Regions from separate parts of the Homo sapiens genome. Here all the other regions are linked to region 3. Evidence: promoter capture Hi-C in 16 types of primary human blood cells and fetal thymus (Javierre and others, 2016). All regions are on one chromosome and are shown on one strand. The core of a region is centred on a gene start or on the middle of the fragment in contact, and the rest is flanking DNA. Distances in the headings are between cores, read along the strand shown. Region 1 holds the start of LOC101928553 (a long non-coding RNA gene). Region 2 overlaps KIF5C (kinesin family member 5C). Region 3 holds the start of EPC2 (enhancer of polycomb 2).

What was found. Contacts are between HindIII fragments. The CHiCAGO score rates a contact against its expected background, and 5 or more counts as called.
Region 1: a contact is called between a fragment that was not itself captured here and the fragment with the promoter of EPC2 in region 3, in 4 of 17 cell types (naive CD4 T cells, total B cells, M2 macrophages and 1 more). The highest score is 5.7, in naive CD4 T cells.
Region 2: a contact is called between a fragment that was not itself captured here and the fragment with the promoter of EPC2 in region 3, in 3 of 17 cell types (M2 macrophages, total B cells and megakaryocytes). The highest score is 7.6, in M2 macrophages.

The regions. Positions count from the first base shown.
Region 1 is chr2:148,924,210-148,928,613 of GRCh38, reverse strand. The region is part of intron 2 of KIF5C (kinesin family member 5C); the gene reads right to left. LOC101928553 (a long non-coding RNA gene) reads left to right here and starts at 1,365. Exons shown (of 2, transcript NR_187659.1): 1 at 1,365-1,825. RefSeq lists an enhancer at 1,991-2,615. The HindIII fragment of the contact is 2,420 bases long and covers 844-3,263 here.
Region 2 is chr2:148,943,310-148,947,887 of GRCh38, reverse strand. KIF5C (kinesin family member 5C) reads right to left here. Exons shown (of 26, transcript NM_004522.3): 8 at 865-989. Among named protein-coding and RNA genes, the nearest start is that of KIF5C-AS1, 51 kb to the right of the region's middle. The HindIII fragment of the contact is 1,237 bases long and covers 1,429-2,665 here.
Region 3 is chr2:148,642,886-148,647,039 of GRCh38, reverse strand. EPC2 (enhancer of polycomb 2) reads right to left here and starts at 2,289. Exons shown (of 14, transcript NM_015630.4): 1 at 1,870-2,289. The coding sequence starts at 2,022. RefSeq lists enhancers at 966-1,115, 1,712-2,216 and silencers at 1,206-1,295, 2,056-2,635. The HindIII fragment of the contact is 14,369 bases long and covers 1-3,985 here.

The DNA of each region.
Region 1 (4,404 bases), core at 804-3,303, 280 kb before region 3:
CACAATGAGAGCACTGTGCAAACCCCTCCACACTGCAGGTCGGTGCCACATCACACAGGGACAAGGGGAGGCTCGAGGGTGGAGGCTGCTTTTTGCTGAAGAGCTGAAGATTATCTGTGGGAATTCTTTCAAAGCAGCAGAGGTGATTAAAATATATTTAGCACTCATTTCTCTCCTGCTTTCCTCCTTCATCCTCACAAATATCACTGGAAGAGGAACAATGCATCATTAATATCCTTGATCCTCCATTCCGAATAAGGGGAGGAAGTCTTCATTTGCACAAGCTGTAGAGGCAGGGAGAAGGACCCCACACTGAGGTGTCCTATTCAGGGTCATGTAAAAAACCAAGCCAGGCAATCAGCTCCATCTACTTCAGGCTCTAAATAGAGTTTTTCTTTTGGGAGCATGGTAGAGGGGGTTCTCTGAATTTTATGATGCTGGTTTGTTTTTGTTTTGCTTTGATAGGTTTGCTTTTTTGAATTTTTTTTCTATATCAATTCTGATTTGTTATGTTTTTTAAAAAAATTTTAATAAACATTTGACTGATCTGAGGTTGTTGAAGTGTGAACTGGGATAAGAACAAAAAAGCAATATGTTATTTTAGGAAGGTAAGAAAAGAAAAATTAAGTGGCAGGATTTTTTTTTAATTCTAGCAGCCCTCAAGAGTTTGTATCAAGCTATATTGGGGGTTGGTGGGAGAGGAGGGACAGGGAGAGAGAGGAGGGGGAGCAAGAGGAGGGAGAGAGAATGTTCATACATATCAGATTTCGGCTAATGGCTCCCCTGCTAACAGTGGGAAGCAAAAACTTGAAGTAGTCAGTGTAAGGTTTGGAGGTTCAAGCTTCAGTTTTCACAAAAATGCCAACTTACTCCAAGAAAAGATTCCTTAGGCCAGAGCAGACAGAGCACCTCTACACTAACATGAATATGATATGCTTTGAGGGACCCAAAGGAAAAAGGTCCCACCCTTAGGTCAAACTTTAAAAATGCCATATTCATAACACAAAAAACTCCAGCCTATTGGAATGCTGGCTACATCACAATATCACAGTTTCCATTTATTCGAAATTACCATTTATTAGAAATTAACCATCCCCCCTATACACACACACACACACACACACACACCCTGAAAGGGCTTTCCTTGTCTTAAGCCTCTGTGTATGAAACACTCTGGAACCCACCGGCCTAGGTGTTAGAACAGCACCGAAGTTGCCAGGGCCAGGGGTCCAGCCATCCTGACCTCTGCTAGCCACCCTGCAAGGGCCGATGTTCCCACGCAGGAGGCCCCAGGGAGGTGGTACTGAGCAACCGGCCACACCCAAGGAAACAGCTCAGAGCTCAACTTCCTCCTGAATTAGGCCACACCCGAGGCCTCCCGGGTCTCATCCACGCCTCTGGGTCCATCACTAAACAGAAGGCACAATCCCACTAACTCTTACTCCATCGCTGCTCATGAAACTCCTGCCAGTAAGGACTGGGTCAAGCACCTGAAAACCAGAGCTCGTCCGTGGCTTCACTTGTTTTGGACTAAGGAGCTGAGGAGCGTGCAAGACTGTACTTGGAGAATCTGTTTCTTGCTGCCATTTCGTCACTGAACACTATTTTTTTTCTCCTTCTTTTTTTGTAAGAAAAGGAGAACACATAAAACCCCACCAGAACAAACTCCACTCGGCCCTGAAAGTATTTACAATCACGGCCCTGAAAGTACTGAAAGTATTTACAATCACGTTACAGTTCATTCACTGCTGCAGAACCTCTCTCCAGCGATCAAGGTCGAAGGGAGCCGACGTCGCCCTCTATCGGCTCCCTGCTGCACTAGAAGGTAATTTAAACGAAAAGGCCCTTTGAAGCCAGTGTTCTCTATTTTCTTCGAAACTCCAGGTTTTGGGGGCTTCTTTTCTGTTTGTTGTTTGTTTGCTCAGTCTATGTTTTGATTTGCTGGTGAGGGAAGGCAGAGAGAGGAAGTGGAGCAGGAGCCCAGCGCGTTTCTATGGCCACCGCGACCACAGGCAGAGGGGGAGCCGTAGCAGGAAAGGCCAGGCCGCGCTCCGCACTGCGGGGGCCACGCCAACCTCCATCCGACTCCCACAGAAGCGCCCACAAAAGGCACTTTCATCACGTCCAGTGCCCGCTCCTGGGCCCACGGAATGCATTTGTTTTAGAGTCTCTGCAGAAACAATGTTTCCACATGCCAGCCACGCTCCGCAGACAGAAAGTTTCTTTGTGTTAGTGCCTGGTGTGATGTGACCTCCACTGGTACAGCATAGCCCGCCGCACCCCGGGGCCACAGCACTCTTCCATCCCGCAGCCGCATGAACCCCAGAAGGAGCTTCCACTGCAGGTGCCCAGAGCCTTCTCATCTCCCAGGGGAGGAGGAAGGATAGCAGTAGATACTTAAAATGCTCCTTGCCTCCCATTTGCTCAGTTCTGAATCCAGGTCTTGCTAAAGCAAAAGAGTTAGTGCCATCTTCAGATTAGAATTGGGGGAGGATGTGATCATACCTACCCATCAGTAGTCCTACGGAGGCATGGGGCTTCCTACCGACTCTCCAGGGGAAATGGGGGCCTGTAGGGTTTCTGGTGATGGTGGCTGACAGGCCATCCTCACCAGTCACCAAACCACTCAGGTAGGCCATAATCAGAGGATGATGAGGCGGTCCTGCTGACTACCTGAGGCCAGCCCGCATGCCGGCTGGCCAGCCTAAAGGGCAGTCCCTGTGCCCAGGCAAGGGCATGCTGCATCTTCAGAATGGAAACGCACCTCATCACTGGCAGGCCACCAGGGCCATCACAAGGTGTAGGAGCCACCATCCCTGTCCCCTCTTCTCTACCCTCCTCCCACACCATTCCTAGCCCTGTCTTTTGCAATGCTTAGATAATAGTCCATATGGCCTGACAGAACAGGGACCACTCATAAAATAATTGTCATCAAATGCTAGCTGTGTGCCCACCAGGAAAGGGGGGCAGGGGAGTACAGAAGAATATCAGTCAGTCAGTCTGACAAGCCCAGGCTTGAGTCCCAGTCCATGGCCCCCGAACCAACCTGGCCAAGTTACTTCACTTCTCTGAGCCTCAAATTCCTCTTCTGTACAATGAGGAAAATAATGCTCACCCTTCAGAAAGTTGTTATGATTTAAAATGCAACAACATATGTCAAGTATATAGACAGTGCCTGATAAGTCACAGCTAAAAATATTTTTTTTCTTCAGAGTCATATATAAGATAATAACAAAACAGATCTGATAATGTCATCCTAAGCTTAACACTCTTCATTGGGTCCACATTGTCTGCAGGATAAAGTCCATCCATTGCCATCAAATTGCTCCAGCCTAAATGTCCCAGCCTCATCTCCCATAATGCCACTCTGCACCCTGTGCCGCTCCAAGTTGTCCAAGCAGAATTTGTGTGTTTATGCTTTTACTTTTGAAATCCCCTCTGCTTGTACAACCCTCCTATATTCTATAGTCCTCAGGACCCAACCTTTCAGAGAAACCTTCTTTAATTCTCCACTCCCTCTCCCAATCAAAATCAATACAAGTGACATTCTTCTGTGTTCCCGTGGCATTTTGCATACACCCTTTCTAAAGTACATAATGCCTATGTGTGTGATGATTATGTACACATCTGTCTCTTTCCCTGTACTCAAAGCTCCTTGCAGACAGTCTTACATAGCATGGCGACTCCAGTCCCAGCACTGCTTACCCCACGGTAAGTACTTATTACTACTTACAGAAATGAATGATTAAAAGAAACAACTGAATGAATGAATTTTAAAGGAATCAGAACTGGAAAACAAGAAATTTCCCCTTCTCTAGCATCTGGATCATCTGTATCTAGTTAATTTGGAAGGCAAATGATTGGTGTGGCTTCTGTAGGCTGGGACATAGTTACAGTACTTCAATAATAGCATCCAGTTACCATGGTGTTTAATTCCTAGGCGTCCAAAGGAGCCTTCCCATTTACTGTGCTGGTAGTCAGAAACCCTACAACCTCTTTGAGAAGAAATGGAGGAGAATTCTACATGCTTTTTCAAGCAAAATTTTGAAAAACAAACACCAGACAAAGATGGGAGCATGAGAGATGCCAGGACTCCACAAACAAACATTTAAAATATATTTTTTTTAACCCAGTGAAGTGGTAGGGAATGAAAAACCAGAGAGAGAATAAAGCCATCGAGTTAAATGGAGCCTCCCAGATGCTCCAAATCATTAAGAGTTTAGATGGACTTGAAAGGAATGCTCCTTGGTCCACCCATTATCAGGAATCACGGGGACTATGGTGCTCTTCGGAAATCATCTGATTTAATTATTAGCCTCTAGAAAAAAAGGGCTCCACAGCACCGCCTCCCAATCTTGATTTAAATAGGGTTACTCATGGCAAGAGATACCTCAGCTATACTTG
Region 2 (4,578 bases), core at 798-3,297, 300 kb before region 3:
AGTTAGGGAGACTGACCAAGCTTCAAGGCTGGCCTTCATGGGGACAATCAGCATGATGTCAGTGATGATGGAGGCCAGAGGGCATTGTGCACATGGCCTTGCTCTATGATGTTGCTCGAGGGAGGTCAGTGCCTCCAGACAGGGTGTGGCAGCAGAAGCCTCCACTGGTGCTATGGAAGTGAGACTGGAGATTCTGGGAAGCCTATTGCTCTGGAGTACAGCCCCAGCCAGGGCCTGGGAGGGCATGGGTCAGGGTGTAGACGACAAAAGAGAATCCGGACAAAACCAGAGAACAGTAAAGGCTTGCCGCTGAGGCTGATTACAGGCCACACTTCATGAGAGAGCCAAGGCCTTCCACATGGGACACCGTCAGCCCATGCCTACTGCTGGGAGAACCAGGGAATGCAGGGAGCGCCCCAGGTTCCAGACCTTCTATCAGCAAAACAAACCTGCAGAGGCAGGACTGCCACATTCCAATGGCAAAGCTCGTTCCTGGCCTATTAGAGTCGGGTACAACATGGGATTTTCTCTTTTCTCAGAAGTTCATATCCCTCCCACATGTGTGCAGCTGCCTCTGCCACAGGCTAAGTCAAACCAACTGTTGCCTCATATCATCATAAGGGCCCATCAGGGATAAATCAGAGTTGGCATGCAAAGCACCTGCCTGTGACACCAATAGGAGACCTCAGGACCAGAAAAGAAAGCAGGGACAAAGGGTTAAATGTAATAACACCTTGGCAGAGCCTCAGAAACTTTAAAAGCTCTTTAAAGCAGGAAAATAGAAAAGCATAAAAATTATACCATTGCACAATGAAGCAAATAAAAGGGGAAAATTATAGATAATACAAATAAAGAACAAATTACCTTTTCGCTCCCAGCCAAATCAACCAAATAAAGTTTCCCACTGAGTTTTTTTTCAGTCTCTACATTCTCTTGTTTAATATTTATCAGGAAGATACTGTGACTTCTAGAGCTGTGTTCATTCATGTCTGAAAAGGAAAATAGTTTACTGCTCTACAAAGAACATGTAGGTTTAGGTAGCAATCCTCTCATTTAAAAAGCATAACAAGTCATGCCTAATAGATCCATTTCATTGAAGTAAGTCCAGTCAATTCTAAAAATTATCTGAGACCCCTGTTTCTTCTGAAAAACAATGCTCATTCTAGAAATACAAGATTTTAAATGTCTTCAAGGAGCAAAGAAGTTAATCTAAAAATCTTAGTCAACAGTTTAAGATATCAGATTTTCTAGCTCTACCTGAAGCCCCATCCTCTAAATTCCTACTCCAGCATGACTTTCCCCTTGAAGAATTCACTACCTCCTCCCCTGCCTCACTTTAAATTCCTCAGACTTCATCATGATTAATACATGATGTAGTCTATCTTAGTCATGTGCATAAGCCTTGCCTTATCAGTAATATCATAAGCTTTCTTAAGCAAGGATTAAGACTTTCCTAAGGAAGGATTAAGACATACACTTCTACAACCTATGCTAACAGCAAAGAAGGTTTCAAAAATTAAATATGCTTCATTAAGATGGGGTACTGGAAATAAAAATCCTTGCAAATCCTCGTCTTTGTCTGCCAAGCAGACAGAGACCCCAGCAACCATCCCATTCAGCCTTCACCAGCAATCATTTCTCAAAACCATCTTACCAGATTATATGTAAAAAGCCCTAAAGATTCATTTTTAAAAAACTGTTAGAACTAATAATTAATTCAGCAAAGCTGTAGGATACAAAATCAACATGTAAAAAATCAGTTGCATTTCTATATACTAACAATGAACAACCCAAAAAATTAAGAAAACAACCTTATTTATAATAGCAAAAAAAGAATAAACTACTTAGGAATAAACTTAACCAAAGAAGAGAAAGACTTGTACACTGGAAACTACAAAACATGACTGAAAGATATGAAAGAAGACACAAATAAAGGGATTGATTGAAAGACTTAATATCATTAAGCTGTCAGTATTACCCAAAGCAATCTACAGATTCATGGCAATCTCTATCAAAATTTCAATGACATATTTTATAGAAGCAGAAAAATCCATCCTAAAATTTATATGAAATCTCAAGGGATACCAAATAGCCTAAACAATCTTGAAAAATAAGAACAGAGTTGAAGGTCTCACACTTCAACAATATAATGGACTTTGGGGACTTGAGGGGAAGGGTGGGAGTAGGGTGAGGGATAAGAGACTACAAATAGGGTGCAGTGCATACAGTTCGGGTGATAGGTGCACCAAAACCTCACAAATTAGCACTAAAGAACTTACTCATGTAACCAAATACCACCTGTACCCCAATAGCCTATGGAAAAATAAAAAATAAAAGTTACTACAAAGCTACAGGAATCAAAACAGTGTGGTATTGACATAAAGACAGACATATAAATCAACAGAAGAGAATAAAGGGCCCAGAAATAAATCCTCACATATATGGTTGAATAATTTTCAACAAGAGTGTCAAGACCATTTAATGTGGAAAGAACAGTCTTTTCAACAAATAGTGTTGGAAAAACTGGATAGCTACATGCAAAAAATATATTAATGTTGGGCCCTTACCTTAGAGTACATGCAAAAATTTACTCCAAAAGGATCAAATACCTACATATAAAAACTAAAACTATAAAACTCTTAGAAGAAAACACAGGAGAAAAGCTTCATGACATTGGACTTGGCAATAATTTCTTGGATATGACACCCAAAGCACAAGCAACAAAATAAAAATAGACACTTCATCAAAATTAAAAACTTTTATATCAAAAGACACTATCAATAGTGTAAAAAAGCAATCCATGGAATAGAAGAAAATTTTATAAATCATATATCTAATAAGGGATTGATGTCCAGAATACATAGAGAACTCCAAGTCAACAACAACAAATTAACCTGATTAAAAAATAAATACAGACCTTGAATAGACATTCCTCAAAGAAGATATACAAATGGCCTATAAGCACATGAAAAGATGCTGAACATCACTAATCATTAGGGAAATGCAAATCAAAACCACAATGAAACAGCACTTCACACCATTTGGATGGCTATTATAAAAATAATAACAATAACAAGTGGCAAGGATATAGAGAAATGGAAACTCTGATGTACTGCTGTTAGGAATAGAAAATGGTACAGCTGCTATAGAAAATCGTAATAATAGCAAATAGTAGCGGTTCCTCAAGAAATTGAAAGTAGAATTACCATGAGATCCGAAAATTCCACTTCTGCATATATACTCAAAAGAATTGAAATCAAGGACTCAAATAGATGTTTGCACACCTATGTTCATAACAGCATTATTCACAACTGCCAAAATGTGGAAGCCACCCAAGCGTCCATTAATGGTTAAACGAATTTTTTAAATGTTGTATATACATACAATGGAATATTGTTCAGCCTTAAAAAGGAAGGACACTTGCTACCACATGGATGAAACTTGAAGACATTATGCTAAGTGAAATAAGTCACAAAAGGACAAACACTTTATGATTCCACTTACATGAGGTACCTAGAGCAGTCAAATTCATAGAGATAAAGTAGGTTGAGCAAGAGGAGAATAAAGAATTGGTGTTTATTGGGTACAGAGTTTTGGTTGGAGAAGATAAAGTTCTAGAGATGGAAGGTGGTGACATTGCACACATTGTGAAGGTACTTAACATCACATAAATGCACACTTTAAAATGGTTAAGATGGCAAATTTCATATTAAGTATATTTTATTGCAATAATAAAGAAAAACCTTACCAGAATGATAAGAATAATAGCAATTTTTTTTTAGATTAGCAGTTCCAAACCAAGGCATCAAAATGGATTATCAGGTATGCCATAAATAATTTGTGATTAAAAACAGCTTCAGAAACAGAGTGAATAACGTAAATGAGAGATGCTACTACTATAAGAATATCTGTCTTACATTCTTTCAGGTATGTGTGCATGTTTTAAGCAAGAGAAAAAGAAGTGGAGCTTGACCAACATTTCATCCAGGAATAGGCTCACCTATGAAAGTTGCTATATACATGAATATCATCTGATACATTGCTCAGATAGAGAAAATGTTGAGAATTACAGTTCTGGACCACAGAATCAGAGAGTCTTGGGTAGAAGAGACTTAAAGAGCCTAGACCAGTCAGGAAACCAATGCCTGAATCTCTTTTACAACATAACAGTGAACTCACTACCTCTCTAGGTAGCAGGCAGCACTTGGGGCAGCTATAAGGGTTGGAGAGTTCTCCTCACAGGGGTCGAAATCTGCCTCCCTAGAGCTCCAACAATCATGGGTATTCTAAGTATTGAGATGGAACAGAACAAGCTGACCCTCTTTCTTAGTGTCAGCACCTTCAACACGGTAAGATATATTACATTGTCCACACACCCTCCTCCAGATTTTTTTCCCTCATGCAAGCTATAAACCCTTAGTTCTCTCAGCTTCTGTTCATATGAACTCACTGTCATTTGTCCACATCCCTCTTAATAAGATAGACAACTGTCTTTTTTCACGGATCCTCTGCTGCCCAAATCCCATATGCACTGCTTCCCTGAGATGCAATGAACATACTGAGGAAGGAACTGCAGAG
Region 3 (4,154 bases), core at 1,040-3,539:
CTCCCGGGTTCAAGCAATTCTTCTGCCTCAGCCTCCCGAGTAGCTGGTATTACAGGCGCGCACCACCAGGCCCGGCTAATTTTTGTATTTTTAGTGGAGACGGAGTTTCACCATACTGGCCAGGCTGGTCTCGAACTCCTGACCTCATGATCCGCCCACCTCGGCCTTCCAAAGTGCTGGGATTACAGGCGTGACCCACCGTGCCCGGCCTAGAACAGATTTGACTCAAGTTCTAAAATAATAGGATCAAAGTAATTACACACAATACTGGTACTTTTAAGGCCATCTTTCTTTGGATCAAGACCCACAAAATAGCAAAAATATCCAAAGTTGTGCTTATTAGGGTTCAATGTAATTAACTATTGTATATAATATGATTTTATTTTAATTTTCCTTCCCATGGAAAACTGAGTCGTTAGAAACAAATTAAAAAAAAAAGTTCTCACATACAAAAAAAAAAGTTCTCACAGCTCTAAACCTTAGGGATAAATGCTGGGTTTTGATTATAAACATATTTATATATATGCACACACAAATATATATGTGTATGTGCGTGTATATATATCTATTACATATTTGTGTGTGTACACACACAGTTAAGTTCATCCCGATGCTACGGCCATATGCATTTTCTACTGAAAATGTAAGACTTTCAAGTAACTATACATCAAAGAGAAATGTGATTAAATAAGAGCAAAGTAGTATTAACAGGGTAACATAATGAGGTCAGAACTCAACCAGCCAATCGAAGGCATAAAAGCATTTCCTGCAATATTAATAGTCAAAAGAGAAAACCAATCACTGAAACCTCGAGCTTCCTTTTGACAGTCACTGAAGCAAGAGAACCAATCCACACACACCCGAGGTTGACAATAAGGCGGGACTGTAGGTTCATTGAAGAAATTCTTGAGGGTGCAGTTACTATGAACTTCGCACGCAAGTAACACCACTCGAGTCATAAACACTCTCTGTCAAGCCAGATGAAATCCAACCGTCTGCAAAATTTAACCCATCGGAGGAAAAGCAGCAATTTTCCCAAAAGGTGCTGTATTATCAAAATTACAACTGCCAATTTAGATGCACTAGGTCCTCAACTTCTAAGGACCACCTCGCAATGACAATTCTCGAGGACAACGCAACGCCGGCGGCTCGCTTCCGGGCATCCCCGGCTCCTCTCTAACGTTGCGCACGGAGCACGGCCGTCCAGGCGGAGCAGGCAGAGCCCGTCCGCCCCGCGCCCGGCTCGGGTCGGCAGAACTGGCCGGCGGGCGGCCCTCGGACGCTACGACCCGCTCGGTAGTCGTGGCCCCCGCCCTCCCCCGCCGCAGTGCTGCACCGCCTCATCCCGCTGCACCTTCGCGGGCGGGGGAGCCAGGATGATTACATTGCTGGGAGGAAGATGTTTGTTTTGAAAGCACCCTTCCACAGTCATTTCAAAGAGAACTCAATACAAAGCCAAAGTTAAAAGTGGAAAAAATAATAATCTTGCCTAGCCAAATAATACCACGCCATTAATTAGCCCCGCGCCTGAGAGAGGGAGGTGGAAAGGTAAACAGAGACCGTACGCCAAGAGCGGCCAGCGCATCCCCTGCGCCATTCCCGGCCGCCGCTTACGGCAAGGCCCCCTTACGGCAGCGTAAGCAGCGCTGCGAGCTAATCACAACACTGGGACGCAACAACATGGCGGCCGCGGGCGGGCGCTACGCCGGCCGAGAGGGTTTACGCTACTCCGCCGGCGTAGAGTCCCGTGCGTTAGAGCGGCAGCGGCGCCCTCCAGCGAGCGTAAAGCGCTCTGTGAATGGCGAGGCCCGACTGACAAAGGGGAGGGGGGAGGAGGGAAGGGGGGGTAATAAACACTCGAGTCCCTACCGATTCCTCCTCCTTCTCCATCCCGGTGGGCATCTGGGGCACGGCCCGGTTGATGGAGACGCAGTCGTTGAGATCAGGCATGTCCTTGCCGCGGTAGATAGGCAGCGGCTTGGCGGCGTCCAGCGCCCGCGCTCGGAAGGAGAGTTTACTCATTGTCTCCCCGCCTTACAGGAACAGCCCGGGCGGCGGCGGCGGGGCGGGCGGGGAGGGGGGGAGGACTCCCGCCGCCTCCTCCACCTCCTTCCTCAGTGCAGCGCGGCCGGCCCGCTCCTCCTCCTCCTCACTGCCCCCGGCCACAGCATGGGCGCCCACCCCGCCCGAAAACAGCCCCCCGCGCCCGCGGCCGCCTCCACACACTAGATCCGCCGCTCGCCCGCCCGATCCGCTCCCTGCGCCATGGCCAACATGGCGGACATTACCACAGCGGCGGCGAGCGATCCCGGCAGCCCGCGCGAGAGCGCGCCCCCGTCGCGGGAACGCGCCTCGCCCTCTCCCTCCCTCCCTCCTTCCTCTCCCTTCCCCTCCCTCGCCTGCCCACCCACTCTCTCCGCGGCGCTGCCGGCCCGCGGGAGCGTGCTCGGTCTCGGTCCGCTCCGGGGAGAGGGGGCGGGGGCGGCGCCCCTCCGCTCGCTGGCCGGTGCTTTCGCTGTGTGGCAGGTGCCAGGTGCGCAAGTTCGCCCGCGCCCGGGAGCGTGCGCCTCTCCCGCCGCCGCCCGGTCACCCCTCTCGCTGGGTGTCCCGGAGGAAGGCGCCGGGCAAAGACGGCTGCGCCGAGCAGCGCGTGTGTGCAGAAGTCCGGGAGCGGGAAGGGAAAATGTCGACCCGGACCCCACCAGCCATCACCCAAGCCTGTACTTGGACAGCGCTATCCCCAAGGCGCCCTGTGCGCAAGCTAATTCGCATCCTCCGAGGCGCACATCCCCGAGAGGTGCAAGAGGTCTCTCCCATCAGTCCCATCAGTCCGTTCGGAGGACTGGACCGCGCTGCTGGTGCCAGCCCTCTTCTACGCCCTCCCCTCCGTACCTGTCCGAAAGAGCTCTCCAAGGTGCAGCAGCGCGTTCATCCTCGCTTTGCAGTGAGGGTTCATGGTTTGAGGCTGCCAGATGCAACAAGTGAACTTAGGTTCCCTGTCACCCAAACTTCGGTACAGCTGTTTAGTGGATGGTAGGTATTTTTCTGAGTTCAAAAATAGTAGCTTTCCTAAAAGTTCAGCTTCTAAAAATTTAGCCAAGGCAGCACACATTTGCGAAGTAGCAGATGTGTGTCAAATGTGGGGTGCTGTGGAAGACTCGAAGAAATCTGAGAAAAGGTTCCTGCCTCAGAGAGCTTTCACCTTAATGGGATGCCAGGATGGCTGGAAAGATGAGTAACAGAGACGTAAATAGTTGAAGAAAATGACAGCTGGAAAGATAAGTGACAACCGAAAAAAAAGTGTAAATATTTTAAGAAAACAATACAAGAGATGACACAGGCAGTAAGTAGCACATGATTAATTACCAAACGAGATCTAGGCAATAATTGTGAGAGTTCAGAGAAAGGAAAGGAGGCATGACTGCAGCCTAAACTGGTTAGAGAAAGTTCTCAAGAGGAGGGAAAATCAAGGTGACTCAAATAAGTACTAGCTATTGTTGACATCAACCTGGTTTAGCCAAGAGGCTCTTGGTTAGTCTTTAAGCATTACACATTTCTCACAAAACCGTACAAAGAGAGTTTTTAACACATTTTACCATTTTCTAATAATCGATCATACTCTAACTCAGAGAAAGTCAGATGATTTCCTAAAGACCAACAGTGAAAAAATTGATTCCTACTGTCATTTCTATGTGACAATAAAACTATATCTCTTCCTCTATTACGTCCTTCTTCCCCTCCTCCACTTCCTCCCCTCCCCCTTTTTCCTCCTGTTCCTCTTCCCCTTTTCTCTCTGCAGTCTCCTCCTTTGAAGGCAGAATGGTGGATATAGTCTTCATGGTAGTGTCCAAATAGTCTAACCAGTCTGTCGCAGCAAAACTCCGAGTATTGTTTAGTGGGGCTTGAGTGTTTTTCATCCACTTTGTTGTTGGAAGCAATGGAGTTGCTGTGACTCATTTCTTGTAAGCAGTACCTTCCTCAAGCTTATGGGCATGTCCTGCTCTCTAAGTGCTACCCCTGGAACAGTTCCAATCCTCTGGAAGCAAGAACAAGAAGTTCTTGGGAGGGGGTCAGCACTGGGTTCAAGCCTGAAAGGGAAGAAAAAAGCAATAGTTGAAGAAATGAGTCATCCAGAGCTTTCATCTGGATGCCCA